3 separate regions of the Homo sapiens genome follow, and regions 2 and 3 are each linked to region 1. The links are contacts of gene promoters, found by promoter capture Hi-C in human tissues and cell types (Jung and others, 2019). All regions are on one chromosome and are shown on one strand. Each heading gives the region's core, a stretch centred on a gene start or on the middle of the fragment in contact. The rest is flanking DNA. Distances are from core to core; before and after follow the strand shown.

What was found. The method cuts DNA at HindIII sites, captures the fragments that hold promoters and counts their contacts. A contact is called where the count stands out against the background at its distance.
Region 2: a fragment that was not itself captured here is called in contact with the fragment with the promoter of HBP1 in region 1 in 1 of the 25 tissues and cell types used here (hippocampus).
Region 3: a contact is called between a fragment that was not itself captured here and the fragment with the promoter of HBP1 in region 1, in 1 of the 25 tissues and cell types used here (dorsolateral prefrontal cortex).

Annotation. Positions count from the first base shown.
Region 1 is chr7:107,167,735-107,170,434 of GRCh38, forward strand. HBP1 (HMG-box transcription factor 1) reads left to right here and starts at 1,269. Exons shown (of 11, transcript NM_012257.4): 1 at 1,269-1,451. RefSeq lists silencers at 797-1,370, 1,389-1,488, 1,749-1,968 and an enhancer at 919-1,078. The HindIII fragment of the contact is 2,484 bases long and covers 381-2,700 here.
Region 2 is chr7:106,152,031-106,154,730 of GRCh38, forward strand. No RefSeq gene overlaps it. Among named protein-coding and RNA genes, the nearest start is that of SYPL1, 41 kb to the left of the region's middle. The HindIII fragment of the contact is 3,135 bases long and covers 1-2,700 here.
Region 3 is chr7:106,064,903-106,067,602 of GRCh38, forward strand. No RefSeq gene overlaps it. Among named protein-coding and RNA genes, the nearest start is that of SYPL1, 46 kb to the right of the region's middle. The HindIII fragment of the contact is 5,558 bases long and covers 1-2,700 here.

The DNA of each region.
Region 1 (2,700 bases), core at 19-2,518:
AATTATTGACTAGATGCAGCCGACTGTGAATGGACAGCCATGTTTAAAGAGAAGTTAACTATAAAGCAGGGAAGCGTCTCTGGTGAGTCAGAGAATTCGTAACTTGAGGAACTCCTAGTGGAAATGAAGTGGAAAGACAGTTTCTTTCATCAATGAGAAAACGTCTAGAAGGAAAAGAGGGTTAATAAAACTCACCAGAGAAACTTACTGATAATGATTCACAAATTAAATCAGTTTACGTCATACATTACACCCTTTGTATTACGTTAACCAACGAGCATACTAATCAGTATGGAAAATGCCGCTTTAACTTGCCTCAATTTCGTAATCGCCCGCCCCCGCCCCCGCTTTGTAAATTCTCTAGACTCCAGCTTCTCGCTTGCTCACAGTCCATCCCCCAGCCTCACTCTTCCTGGCACTTAGGTGGCGGCTCAACAAACTTAGGTGAACTGAACAGAGCTGACAAGGCAATCTCAAGTTGCTGTCCTGGGAGTGGTGAGGCAAGGCACAAGAGAAAGGACTTCTAGTTCTTCCCACTGCCAGTGCAGCCCCCAGCATCACTTTCGACCCCTTCGTGCCTGGGGCCGTGATTTGTGGGTGATCAAGTCCCTCGCTAGCCTGCAGTACTTCCGCTGGTGCAGTCATCTCCTTCCCCTCGCACTAAAACAATACCCTGGCCTCCTGCCAAACTCTTGAGCAGCGAGCAACTCTGGCTGTTTATGGCCCGGATTGGGTGCTGCAAGAGGCTTGGGCCGCTCTAAGTGTTAGCAGAGGCCCGGAGGAAAAGAAGAGGCCCAAGCTTTAAAACACTCCCTTCCTCCGCCCCCTCCCTTTTGTCCCAGACACCAAAACAAACGAGCTGATACACGTGTCCCTATGACTCTTGTTTACTATCAAGACTGCGCTGTGCGAGCGCCTCTGGGATACGTAGTCCAGCTCTTCCCCGGCCAGCAGTCTCCCACAGCCAAGGACCAAGGCTTGAGACTACGAACCCACAATCCATTTCGGGGACAAAGTTTGGCTTGGGTCCCCGGACTCTCGGCAATAGTCCAATCCGAAGCACTTACTCTTGTGATTGACATGCCATCTTCTCCAGTAAACACAACACAAAAGTCAATACATGCCCGCCCCCCGAGACGGACCACGGTACCACCCAATGGGAAAGGGGAAGAACCGAATGGCAGTTCTGCAGTCCAATAAGAGGGCGAAAGAGCTGGGCGGGGCTCAACCCCCAGGGGGTTGAGGGGAGGGGGAAGACGAAGCTTGAAAGACTTGGTAATGGCGACGGGTTTGGTAAGTAGGAAAGTTTCGGTTGAGGAGTAAGAGCTGCCGCGGGAGCAGTAACCCGCGCGGGGGAGGCCGACGTCGGTCGGAGAGGGGGTACGAGAGCTGCTGGTGGTGTTGTCGTGGCCGGAGCGGCCCGCGCCTGGGCTGCCGGCACTTCGCGGCAGGTTTGTTGTCTTTCAGTTAGGGAAGAGGTGGGGGTGGGGAAGGGAGGGGCAGGAGCGCGGGGGATTGGGCAGACTGGAGGGCTCGGGTCCTCGTTCCTTCTTCTCGGAGGGTTGCCCTTGGGGTGGGGGCAGTTAACCGTTCGATTGGTGCCCGCGGCGAGCCCACCGGAGCAGCGTCTCCCGCGAGCTCACCTGGGCTTCGGGGCGGCGGCGCTAGGGGGTCTCGGGCGGGGGCCGGGAGGAGGCAGGGGGAGGGCGAAGTTCCGGGCCAGGTCGCGCGGTGGGTGGCCGGGCCGGGTGTGGAGATGGGGCGGGCCAGGGCGGGGGAAGGGGCCGACGCAGCGCCGGGGCTGCCCAGGAAAGTTTGACTTCAACTCCCCGTTTGTGGGCGGAGGGTCGGAGCTTGGCCAGGGGTGGGGGGCTGGCCGGAGGTGGGGGACCCCAGTGAGGCGCCGCCTCCTTCTGGACTGAGGGGGATTCTGGCTGAGCTGAGGAGCTCGCGGAGCCGCTGGGCCCCGGGGCTCATTGTTACGCAGTTCGAATGAATGGGCTCCCAGGCGCCTGCGCGCTGGGGCTGAGCCGAGGGGAAAAACAAGCCCGGAGTCCGGGCTGCGGTCACATGATGGGGGGAAGGGAGGGGAACGCGATGAATGGCGAAAGAGGGTGGGGGATGGACTTGGCGTGAACCGGGAGGCACCGCTCTGTGTGACCCAAAGAGGAGGCTTGGCAGGCGATTCCAGTCTCCGCCTTTCAACCTATGCTGCCACCGCAGGCCGATTGAAACAAAACAAAACAAACCAGGCGAAGTGGACAGCCAGGTTTTTGTAGCTTTAAATGCTGCGTGCTGTCTAGGGTGTTTCACTCTCCGCTGTGCACTCTACACTCGAGTTCATTCTTAGGGAGTTTTCAGCTACAGTCGTTTTTAGAAGGAGCACTGACAGCGAGGTAATACTCAAGTTTTCTGTTTGTTTTGTTTTTGGCTCATGGTGCCACTGATGCCAGGACGAGAGGAGGCTTAGAAAAGGAGTTATACATACTGGGAAGCGATGGAGTCCTACTAACAGCTCGGATGGAGGCTTTAGCTTTATTAATACTTCCCTCTGAATAGCCGTAAGCACTCCTAATAGTGGTTTTGAAATTAAAGGTACTTTTTGAGAATTAGAATAATTTTAACATTGGAAATACTTTTCTGGTCATTTAACAGTGATCTAAATCTGCAATGTATGTCTTGTACTTTTGGTTTTTTTTT
Region 2 (2,700 bases), core at 68-2,567, 1.0 Mb before region 1:
CCAAAAGGCCTCATCCCCAGGCTCGCCGGCATATTTAGTGACATTAATCTGTGCAAGAGGCTTGGAATGCAGTTTTTTGTTGTTGTTTCTTTTTAAACAAACATACTGTCCAAAGTTCTCTCACTAAGGAAGGAGGAAGAATAGACTTTGAGCAGGCAACAAGTACTGTCACATAGTCCAAAAGCTCTGATTCTCACAGAAAAGTCCATAATCTTTAAGTGCTGCAGAGATTTCAGGATCAAGGTAAATTTGTAAAAAGTTGGGAAACCAAAGGTATTATACAGTCCCATGGGAAGAGTTTGCTCAACAAGACGGTTCTTTTGCTGTAGTTGGTGAGCCAGGTTCTTGCTCCACGTTCACCCTCAGGGCTTGGTGGGGTTGGGGTTAGCCTGCTCTGCAGCTAGGCTGGCACCTGTCAGTACCTGGGTGATTGTTCCAACACAGACGGTACGTAGGAAGCTGGCACAAGAGCTGACGGTTCTTGTTTGTCATCCCCTATATTTCCTTGTGTCCCCACTCAGTTGGGCCTGCCTGCATTCTTTTGACAGTCGCTAAAGTCACAGACATACTTGACCTTGCAGTTTTTAGAGGGGACCTGTCACCTTTCAATAAACAAGAGGGAAGATCTTTGAGCAGTGAGTTCCAGAGACCCTGTTAAAAAGAAAAACCTTAGACAAGTTTAGCAGAGTTTAAGTGAGAAAAAAACAAAAACTCAGAAAACAAAAACACATGACATGTGAATCAGGCAGCCCTCTGATTCAGAACGGGTTCTAAGAACATGGTCAACAATGTGATCAAGTGTTATGGATGCACGGAAAACAGAAGTGAGGTACATATAGGGCTTAACTGGTTCCGGCTCAGCGTTTGCCTTATTTGATCGTTGGCAGCCAGGGATTGAAGGAAGCTCAGTTGCCGTGATGGCGGAGACTCAGCTATTTTTTACAAAAGCATACTCCTAAATTTAGGCTTTCAATTAGATTAGTAAGCCAGGCTGCCTGCAGTTAGTTAAGTAAGGACTTGGGTGCAAAGGCTTCCTCAGGCCAAATTTAGGTTATTTTAACATCCCCAATGGCCAGAGACAGGCTTCTTGGAAGCCAACTGCTTGGAGTAAAACTGTGATGACAATTCCTTTTGAAACATGTACTCCTTGAAATTTGGAAGACATTTTGGGCTAATAGATGTTCTCTGTGCCTGAAAATAAGGATGGCTTCTTCCAAAATGCAGGTGAGTCAGCCCTTCCCTGCAAAGAACTTGCTGACTGCTGCAATTAGGGGCAGTCCACAAAAGAAAAACCATAAGGCTGCATCAAAGCACTGGCTCCTCTCTCAGAGAACAGAGGAGAAGCTGCCCCTCAGAGGAAGGAAGGTGGCTTTCCAGGAGGCAGATGCTGAGTCAGGAGGAAGGTTGCTTCAGGATGTTATGTTAAAACAAAACAAAAAACAGACCAGGTGCCCTGGCTGACGCCTGTAATCCCAGCACTTTGGGAGGTCAACGCGGGCGGATCACTTGAGGTCAGGAGTTGAAGACCAGAGTGGCCAACGTGGTGAAACCCCGTCCCTACTAAAAATACAAAAATTAGCTGGGTGTGGTGGTGCATGCCTGTAATCCCAACTACTCGGGAGGCTGAGGCAGGAGAATCGCTTGAACCCGGGAGGCAGAGGTTGCAGTAAACTGAGATCGTGCCACTGCAATCCAGCGTGGGCGACAGAGAGAGACTCCGTTTCAAAACCAACCAACCAACCAAAAAAACAAGGCTGACCCCCACCCCCAGCAGAGGCTGAACTTAGAACAAGTACAGATCCCATCAGAACTATGATCTCTTTCAGATCAAAGAGGCTCATGGTACATTCTAGCTTTTCTTGTTCTCTGATTCTAGACATTTTCTGCCTTGAAATAGGAGATTTCCTGGGGTGCGCCCGCCCGCCTTGCCTCATCTCTCAAATACATTCCTGGGAGCAAGGAGCCCTGCAGCAGGCAGCTGCCCAGCGCTCAGCCCTCTGCTGCTCTCTGCTGGAATGTCGCTGCCAACACCACTAGTGCTTATCCTCAAAGCTTTGGCCAATTCCTGGTACTTCTTTTTGGCCTGTTAACAGAGAGAAGCTGACAAGCAAATTACAGACCTTTGTGACTTAGAACTGAATGCTAAGTAAAATCAATGCTCCGTTAACACAGAATGAGCAACATGACTGTTAAAAAAGCAATGATAGGGTCGGGCGCAGTGGTTCACGCCTGTAATCCCAGCACTTTGGGAGGCCAAGGCAGGTGGATCACGAGGTCAGAAGATCCAGACCATCCCGGCCAACATGGTGAAATCCCGTCTCTACTAAAAAAAAAAAAAAATTGCCAGGTGTGGTGGCGCGCTCCTGTAGTCCCAGCTACTCTGGAGGCGGAGGCAGGGGAATTGCTTGAACCCAGGAGGGGAGGTTGCAGTGAGCTGAGATGGTGCCACTGCAGCTTGGCGACAGAGCGAGACTCTGTCTCAGAAAAGAAAAAAAAAAAAAAAGGCAATGATAGAGACATCAGTTGCTTTTTAACTTAATTACCAGACAAGAAAGACCGTAAATTTCTTGTACTTAACAAGAAATGCTTCTCAATGGCCATATTGTGCAAAATATTGTGCGCATACTAAAAGGGACACATGAAACAAGTTATGTACTCTCTGCTTGCAGGAGTTTATAATCATATAACTCAGAAGGAGGG
Region 3 (2,700 bases), core at 169-2,668, 1.1 Mb before region 1:
CAGGAGGCAGGGGCCCGACCTCACGGGGTTGGAGCAGACCTAAAGTGGGATGAGAGCAGAGGAACCCTGCGGCTGGGGCTCTCCACTCTTCCATCACGCTCTGTCCAGCAGGGCAACTGGAGGGAGCCATGAGCATGCGATGACCTGGCGGCTGCTCAGGATGGGAGGGACCACTGTCAGCCAGGACTGGCAGGACTGTGTGAGTCATCCTAGTGGGTGAGGGAGTCTTCCTGGGCTCTGGGAGCTATGAGTCCATGATTCCTGGGCATGTGAGGAAGCTGGTTAGGAGCTCAGCCAAAACTTAAACTCTCAATCCAGCACTCTTTACACTCCCACCACATCTGAGCTGAGACTTGAAGGGGTGGGGCATGGGTGATTCTGGTCCCAGGGACTAGAGCCTGGGGGCTCCCACCTTTTCCTCTGGTTCTGCACTGACCTGCCCTCTGGTTCTGCCCTGACCTGCCCTTGCCAAGCCCACTGGGCCGGCGAACAGTTGTTTCCATTTTCCCTGCAGCCTCTGTTCTGGGAACCAGGCCAGCATTCATAGCCTTTCCCCTCCTTTTCTTTTTGTAATAGAAACTGCTCAGGGCTGCCAGGAGCCAGCAGTGTGCTCCGCGGCTCACCGTTTGGCTGGACTGGAGGTGAAGCTTCTTGGTGGCTCCTTCCCAGCCTTCTATGGAAGCTGGAATCCACTCTCCCGAGGCCATTTCTCCTCCCGGGGTTCCCTCTCTGCAGCCTCAACCCCCCAGTGCCCTTTGTCCCCTAAAGCGAGCAGTTTGTTTTCAGTCCAATACCTCCAGGGGATGGGGGGGGGCGCCTGGAGGAGTGTCCCAGGAGAGGGTCCCACCAGCCACGCTGCCCTGAACCCCCTTAAAATGGGGGTGGTGTGACAGTAACTTAGAGACCACTTAGATGACCTCAGGCATTCTGAGAAATCTAAAGGCTGATCTGAAGCCAGAGGAGGAAAGTTCATTCACCTTTGTCCCAGCCCCTCCCCGACTCCAGGACTCTAGCGTTGGCTGTTTTTATTTGCAGTCCAGCGTCCGGAATGAGCGGAGTTCCTTTTGGGAAGGATGTGCGGCAGGTGTGCTCACTCTGCCCGGGAGCGTCTCCCCGCCGAGGAGCGCCCATGCTGACTGCGAATTGTTCCACACTGCACGCAGAGCATTCCTTTAGCAGCCTCTTGTTTTCTTAAGTGACTCTCTACAACTGTTTCCTTGGAGGCGTTTGTCTAAATAAGCTCTTCTTCTAGGCAAACTGGTGGGGGGAATTGATTCACTATCCTCAGAAATTAGGAAGCATGAAATTATACTGGCTCTGCTACCGGGGAACAAAGAGCAGGGGCGTGGTGTGCAGCGGCCAGTGCAGGGCCCAGGACAGGGTGTGGGGGCTAATCACAGCCCGCGGGGTGGGTGGGAAGTGCCCCAGCCCCAAGCTGGGACTGTGCTTCTCGGCACCTTCCACACCTTATGTAGCTCCCCTTTGGTCTCCACGTTTCTGGAAGTCACAGCTGCACCCTGGGTCACCTTAAGCTTTTTCACAGTGGACCACATGTGATTCTGAGTTACATTACTTTAACCTCAAGAGCTTGACTATTTTCTATATCGTGAAGTTATAAAAGGATAGTGGAATCTCACAGTCATTTGAGAGACAATACTTTTTTTCGACCATATGAATGTTTTGTACCATGGAGACAGTGTGAGCCAGGCTAGGAGGTCTGGTCAGAGACACTTATTTTATTTTTAGTTTTAGTTTTTGTAGAAATGAGAGTCTCACTATGTTGCCTAGGCAAGTCTTGAACTTCTGGCCTCAAGCAATCCTCCTACCTCGGCCTCCCAAAGTTTTAAGATTACAGGTGTGAGCCACTGCACCTGGCCAGACACACTTAGTTTAAGGAGCAATGTGCTATAGGCAAGAAAGCCAAATATATCTCAGGTCAAATCTGGCTCTGCTGTGTGATTTGGGGCAAATTAATGAACCTCTCTGCACTTCTGTTTCCTCATCCATCAAAGGGGAATAATAAAACCTATCTCACTGTGCTGTAAAGATTAAATAATGAAATGGATGCAAACTACCTCACATAGTACCTGGCCCACAGCAAGTTCTTAACTAAAGAGAACTCTCTTTCTCTTCTAAAACCTAGGATGCCTGAGGAGTCTAGGATTAGGAATCTCTGAATATTTACTAGTAGCATTGCTGGGGTGGATCAGAAATATTTGGGAAAAAAGTTAGGAGGAAAATGGCACCTATGAGGATGTCATAGTCATCAGCAATGAAGGATTTGAGAAGTTCTTTAGCAGAAATCAGGAGATTACCTCTTTCATTCAAACCCTAGCGAAGGATGCTTTACACTATGACTATGATTACAGAGAAATGAGAATATTTTCCATTTGTGATATAGAAAAACCATTCCCTTAACTGGGGGCCACATGCTGTAGGGAGTTCAATACCATTCTCCAAGTACATGAGGCCCAACCTACATCCTGGTTCTGTCTCTTTCCCCAGCCCTGGTCCTTTGCAAGAGGTAAAAGTCTTTATAAGTGCATGAGAATAACTGCTCAAAATCACTTTTAGGTTTCCCCCAAATTCTCCTGATCTCTAATAAAAACAAATAATTGAGGGGATGTGACATTACCCTTGGTCACTAGTGATTTAGAGCTTCTGTCCATTGCTCCTTGGAGCTGCTCATCCTCAAAGGTA